Linked DNA regions of Homo sapiens: region 1 is linked to region 2. Evidence: promoter capture Hi-C in 16 types of primary human blood cells and fetal thymus (Javierre and others, 2016). All regions are on one chromosome and are shown on one strand. The core of a region is centred on a gene start or on the middle of the fragment in contact, and the rest is flanking DNA. Distances in the headings are between cores, read along the strand shown.

What was found. The method cuts DNA at HindIII sites, captures the fragments that hold promoters and counts their contacts. A CHiCAGO score of 5 or more calls a contact.
Region 1: a fragment that was not itself captured here is called in contact with the fragment with the promoter of MTOR-AS1 in region 2 in 1 of 17 cell types (endothelial precursors); the score reaches 5.1 in endothelial precursors.

What each region holds. Positions count from the first base shown.
Region 1 is chr1:11,218,338-11,221,410 of GRCh38, forward strand. The region is part of intron 19 of MTOR (mechanistic target of rapamycin kinase); the gene reads right to left. Among named protein-coding and RNA genes, the nearest start is that of ANGPTL7, 31 kb to the left of the region's middle. The HindIII fragment of the contact is 2,052 bases long and covers 271-2,322 here.
Region 2 is chr1:11,142,348-11,145,664 of GRCh38, forward strand. It overlaps MTOR-AS1 (MTOR antisense RNA 1), which reads left to right and starts at 1,551. Exons shown (of 4, transcript NR_046600.1): 1 at 1,551-1,640; 2 at 2,320-2,539; 3 at 2,806-2,932. It overlaps MTOR (mechanistic target of rapamycin kinase), which reads right to left. Exons shown (of 58, transcript NM_004958.4): 33 at 2,621-2,698; 34 at 2,301-2,408. The HindIII fragment of the contact is 11,786 bases long and covers 1-1,674 here.

The DNA of each region.
Region 1 (3,073 bases), core at 47-2,546, 76 kb after region 2:
GAGAATTGCTTGAAACCGGAAGGCGGAGGTTGCAGTGAGCTAAGGTCACACCATTGTACTCCAACCTGGGCGACAGGGCGAGACTCCATCTCAAAAAAAAAAAAATGTTATTACAAAGATCAAGGAAAATGAGACTAAATATAAAGGTTCTTCAGGCAAATTTTTATTATGCAAAGCCTGAAAGAAAGTAGAAAACCTAAGCTGGAGGAAAACAGGCCTACAGCGATGGCGGGGAGGTCAGAGAAAACTGAGAGACAGAAAGAGGAAACAAGCTTCCTGGTCCTTGGTGCCATTTTATTAGGCATGATTAGGGAGCATTTCCGTGGCTTATTCATAAGGAGTAGCTGCCCAAGGGACATGGACAGGCAAGCACCTCAATGCTGAGTAGAGAGCTAGAGGAGCTGCCTCTTCTTCCTTAGCCTTTCACATGTGTTCTCTTTTTGCTCGGAACATGAGTATTTTAAAAGAACACAGTTTTGCTCCTGAAAATATGATGCACTAGATCTCCTTCCAAACTCCCCCACTATGAAAAGCCTAAAATTAAGTACAAAAATATAAACATGATTATAAGATTATTAGAACTGAAGTGGCCAGGCGCAGTGGCTCACGCCTGTAATCCCAGCACTTTGGGAGGCCAAGGTAGGCAGATCACCCCGAGCTCAGAAGTTTAAGACCAGCCTGAGCAACATGGCAAAACCTTGTCTCTACCAGAAGTACAAAAAAATATATTAGCTGGGCATAGTGGCATGTGTCTGTAGTCCCAGTTACTTGGAAGGTTGAGGTGGGAGGATCACTTCAGCCTCAGAGGTGAGGTTACAGTGAGCTGAGATCATGTCACTGCGCTCCAGCCTGGGCAACAAAGTGAGACCCTGTTTCAAAAAAAAAAAAAGAACTAAAGCCTCTCACATAAAGCCAGACTTTCAAAGAGCTACATATTAAGAGAAATGGTGAGTTAAAAAAAAAAAATCTGTCCACTGGTAAAAGGAGATAAAGAAATTTGCCAGTTGTGATGTGGGGTCTAGGCAGAAAAATGCCTCCCCTAAGAGTTCATAATTTCAGGCATCTATTGTACAGGTTTAGGGATTTATTTTCACTAACTGTGTGGCCTGGGAATCTCTAAGCCAAGAAATTAAAGTTCTCATGGACCACCTGGCAGAAGTAAATGCACATCCTCTCTGGAAAGATGCAAATTTAGAGCAGATTTTCTAGTATTGCTCCAGGGAAAGCCCAGTTGAATATGCTATATGATTCGAAATTATAAAACACGTGAGGAAACAGACCACTACAAGCATGACTTCTCAGAAACAATATACACAATCAGACCCACTAAGAGTTTTATATATAATAGAAGTATTCGACAGAAAATTTAGTCTGTTTAAAATGCCTTAAAAAAAGTGGGAATAAGGCTGGGCACGGTGGCTCATGCCTATAATTCCAGCACTTTGGAAGGCTGAGGCGGGTGGATTGCTTGAGGACAGGAGTTCAAGACCAGCCTGGGCAACATGGTAAAACCCTGTCTCTATTGAAAATGCAAAAAACAAAAAAAATTAGCCAGCATGGTGGTGCACGCCTGTAGTTCCAGCTACTCAGGAGGCTGAGGCATGAGGATCACTCGAACATGGAAGGTGGAGGTTGCAGTTAACCGAGATCGTACCACTGCATTCCGGCCTGGCAGCAGAGTGAGACTTGATCTCAAAAAAAAAAAAAAGAAAAGAAAAGAAAAGAAAGAAAAAAAAAATAGAAGGGTATAAGGACAAAATTCCAAAAAAGATAATAGATGAGAATTTCTCAGGAACTGATAAGATACCAATCCTCACATTCAGGAAGCCCTCCAAGTCTCAAACAGGATAATCAAAAGAAATTCACATCTAGATATATAATAGTAAACACTTCAGGATAACAAAACAATGAGAAGTAAAGCCACAGAAAAAATATGTAAAAGGGATTCACGATTTCTCAACGGCAACAAAAAGAAGTCAGAAAGTGGGATCGTATCTACAGTTGTAGGAGAACCTAGAATAATATTCTTGGCTAAAAAAATAAATTTTTTAATTTAATTTTTAAATCTCCAAATGAAGATTTAAAAAGAGGGTGAAATAAAGACTTATTCAGATAAGAGCAGTTTATTTCAATGAATGCTCCTAAGAGGAATTTGTCCTATGAAGAAAGAATATGATTCTAGGAGAAAGCTCTAATATGGAAGACAGGGTGATGAGACATGAAATATGTGTGGATGAATATAAACAAACACGACATAAAACGACAATAATGTTTAATAAGATGGAGGAAGGGGGCCTAGGAACGCAGGCACCCTCTAAAACAAGCTTGTCCAACTCCTCGTGCTCTAGAAGCTAGAAAAAGCAAGGAAAACAATTCTCCCCTAGAGCTTCCAGATGGGAACACAGTCCTGTCAACATCTTGATTTTAGCCCAGTGAGACCTCATGTCAGAAATATAACCTAGAGAGCTGTAAGATAAGAAATCTGTGTTAAGCCACTAAATTTGTGGTAATCTGTTATAGCAGCAATAGGAAATAATAAAGGAAGGAAGAAAACGAGGTATAAAGATGGTGACAGAAGCTAGACGTTGCTAGATAAGATTTTATTTATAGTTCTAGCTCTGGAACTATGTTAATGTCTTATATAACTAAAACAAAAGTTAATTTTTTTTTTTTTGGAGATGGAGTCTTCCTCTGTCGCCCAGGCTGAAGTGCAGTGGTCCAATCTTGGCTCACTGCAACCTCTGTCTCCCGGGTTCAAGAAATTCTCCTGCCTCAGTCTCCTGAGTAGCTGAGACTACAGGCATGCACCACCATGCCCGGCTAATCTTTGTATTTTTAGTAGAGACGGGGTTTCGTCATGTTGGCCAGGCTGGTCTCAAACTCCTGACTTTGAGTGATCCACCTGCCTCGGCCTCCCAAAGTGTTGGGGTTACAGATGTGAGCCACCACGCTCAGCCTAAATTTTTTGTAAACTCAAGGAAATTTCTAAAAATTGAAAATAAACAGAAACAAATGAGTATAACTATAAGCCAAGTTGGCTGCACAATCACTCAAGAAGAATATCAACTGAAAG
Region 2 (3,317 bases), core at 301-2,800:
GCGCAATCTTGGCTCACTGCAACCTCTGCCTCCCAGGTCCAAGCGATTCTCCTGCCTCAGCCTCCCAAGGAGCTGGGATTACAGGTGTGCGCCACCACGCCTGGCTAATTTTTGTATTTTTTTCTTTTAGCAGAGAGGGGGTTTCTCTATGTTGGCCAGGCTAAGTCTCAAACTCCTGACCTCAAGCAATCCACCTGCCTCAGCCTCCCAAAGTGCTGGGATTACAGGTGTGAGCCACCATGCCTGGCCAAGTGAACTCCTTTTTCATCCTTGTTGATAAGAAGTCAGACTCAGAAGGGGAGTTCCTGAGATCTACTGCTTCATGGTAAATTCCATGAACCCATGGAGCTGTCCTCCATGGAGATAAACTTAAAAGTCTAGCGACAATGATCTCAGGCTTTTAGCTATGATAAGATGCAGTCTGAGCCTGACTGGAGAACCCAAGGCTAGAAGAGACCCAGCGCCAGTAAGGCTGACCTCTCTAACTGCCCTATGGGAGGGTCTTAGGAACCAAAAGCATTGGTGCAACTCCAAAGAAAAGTAACAAACATGTATTTTTCCACTACTATAATACTGGTTGGGGATTTTAATTTAAATGATTTGACCACAAAATGGCAGTTTTCTAGCCCCAGCAGTTCATTTGACAGCAAGCCATCCACAAGAGCCAAATTTCCACTATAAATGTAATGCTTTACTTTCAGGCCTTGGACCACATTTTTCCATCCCATGAAGTGTGACAACAATGATTTCGAAAGTTAAAATAACAGAAAAAAGTACACTGAGTGATTGTTTTTTGTGACTTCTCACCAATAGTTAGGTTCTCCCAGATGCTGAAATAATTTGGCCTCCTGTAAGCCAAAAAGCATCTTGCTGCCTCAAGATAGGAAAGTCACGAAGGCTTAAGGTGGTGGCAGTGTCCTGGACCCAGTAAAGTCAGACAGGCATCTCTCTTCCCAGGACTCATTCCATGCCTCCCCTCTCCTCTAAGTCTACATTTGGATCAAGTCCCACTTGTCAGACTGTCAGAAGGTTCATCAGATCTCTGCTGTAGAAACTCTTTATTATAGGCATTTCAAAGAATTGGGGTGTGTACAAATCAAGTGGGAAATGCTTATTTGTGGAATTCTTTCTGGTGCCCAGGAGACAATTTTCCATCAAAACATTCACTGGGCATTTCATAATTACTAATAAAACATGTAAAAGAACTGTATGTGCTCATTTCAGAGCCATAAATGACTGTATTCATAGATGTTCCTTTGCCCATTGCTCTTTCCTGTCCAGGGGAATGTGCCCTGAGCTTCCTAGGCAGGAATGTGTTTGGAGTCAAAAGGTTTTGTCGCAGCCTACTGAGACGCCTGGAAGCACAAACTTCGATTGGTCTGAAGCGAGAATTTGGAATTAGCAATTAGGTGGGGATCTAGTTGAGAGGAAATGGTTTATAATTGCGGGGATGGATTATGATAGGTAGGGAGACAAATGGTTTCTGGAGTGGTAAAGGCTTTCTCTCTTTTTTCTTTTGCTGATGAACTTCCTATCCTACCCACTCAAGGAATGGGATAACTGGCCATCCTTCCCAGAACATTTAGACTCCTGACTCCCAGACCTGGAGTGACAGTTTCTCATGTTAAAATGATCAGAATGTGAGAATGAAAACACTGATGGAGGACTTGGGAAAGCTTCTTCTCTACAAGCGGAAACTGCAGTGGAAAAAAAGTCTCAATAGAGGCGACAGGATGACTCTGACCTAAGTAGCTATAAATAGCAGGAGTTGGCCAATGAGAACCTAAGGCAACCCCATCTGAAAAGCTGGTGCAGGTGGCCTCCAAGTGTAGTTAGAGCAGTGGTTCTTAGCTTTGGCTGGTGGAATCATCTGGGGGAACCTGAAAAGATACTGATCCTGAGTCTCTCCCCAGAAATTTAATTGGCCTGGGGAATAGCCTGGGCATCAGGATTTTAAAAAGCTCTGCAGGTGATTCTACTGTGCTGCTAAGGTTGAGAACCACTGATTTTGAGGTTATGATTCCTAACTGACTGGTCACAGGTGTCACTTACTAAAAAACATTTTTTTTAATTCCTAGAGAAGAGAATAAGAAGAGACTGGAAAATTGGTCATTCTCTCACAGCTTAAGTTTAGGTGAGGAGCCTTTGAGTATTCTGCTTTGTATGCAAGCCAAGCAATACACTGGTGGAGGAGGCAGGAAAAGCAAGTTGAGTAAGAGCCAGGGTGGAGGGGGGCACTCACCCAGGTCCTGGAAGGGGTAGGGGTAGGTGGGTGAACTGGGGCTTTCTACCAAGCTCACCTGCAGTCTCTCCCACCAGATCTGGCGGATGATCTCTCGTCGCTCGGGGACAAGTTTGTACTGGATAACCTCCTCCAGCTCGGACAGCATGTGGCAAGAAACCATGGCCTGATGGAAGCAAATCGCATTCCAAACTAATTACTGCACGAACAATCCAAAAGACAGGATTAATTTAAATCATTCCTTCTGGTGTCAGGGTATCTGCCGATCAGAGAAAACAGGCATGTTTCCAGCAGCCTGTAAGTTCTCAATAGCCCATTCTGAAAAAAGTATGGAAATAAGCCTCAAAAATGACAATGTGCAGAATAGTTGACACTTACCCCATATGCCCGACTGTAACTCTCTCCTGCCATCGCAGTTAATTCAGCATCCAGCAGGTCCCTGGCCTTGTCAATGCACTAGAAGAGAAACAACCCTTGGGACTGAGCTCTGGACTTGGGAGCTTAGGGTTATTTTAGGGCACCCCAACTAGCTACAGAAGTTATCTGTCTCACTTAAATTCCAGGGATGAAAAGAGAAATTCGCTGAAGAAGGGCATTTTCCCAGAACTGAATGGCTTGAGAGGAGGTATTATCCAATTTCTCATCGAAGACAGAAATGTATGGCATCCAAAACTTTAACATCTATCTAAGGTAACACACAAAATCTTAGGTGGCAAGGGCATGGGAATGTGGGCTGTAAAACCGAATCATGGGTTCTTGCATCTCAAGAGGACATAACTGGGGATCTACCTTTTTTTTTTCTTCTGAGACACAGTCTCACTCTGTCACCCAGGCTGGAGTGCAGTGGTGTGATCTTGGCTCACTGCAGTCTCCACCTCCCGGGTTCAAGTGATTCTCTTGCCTCAGCCTCCCAAGTAGCTGGGATGCTGGGGTTACAGGCGCCCGCCACCACGCCCAGCTAATTTTTGTATTTTTAGTAGAGATAGGGTTTCTCCATGTTGGTTCAAGCGATTCTCTTGCCTCAGCCTCCCAAGTAGCTGGGATGCTGGGGTTACAGGCGCCCGCCACCACGCCC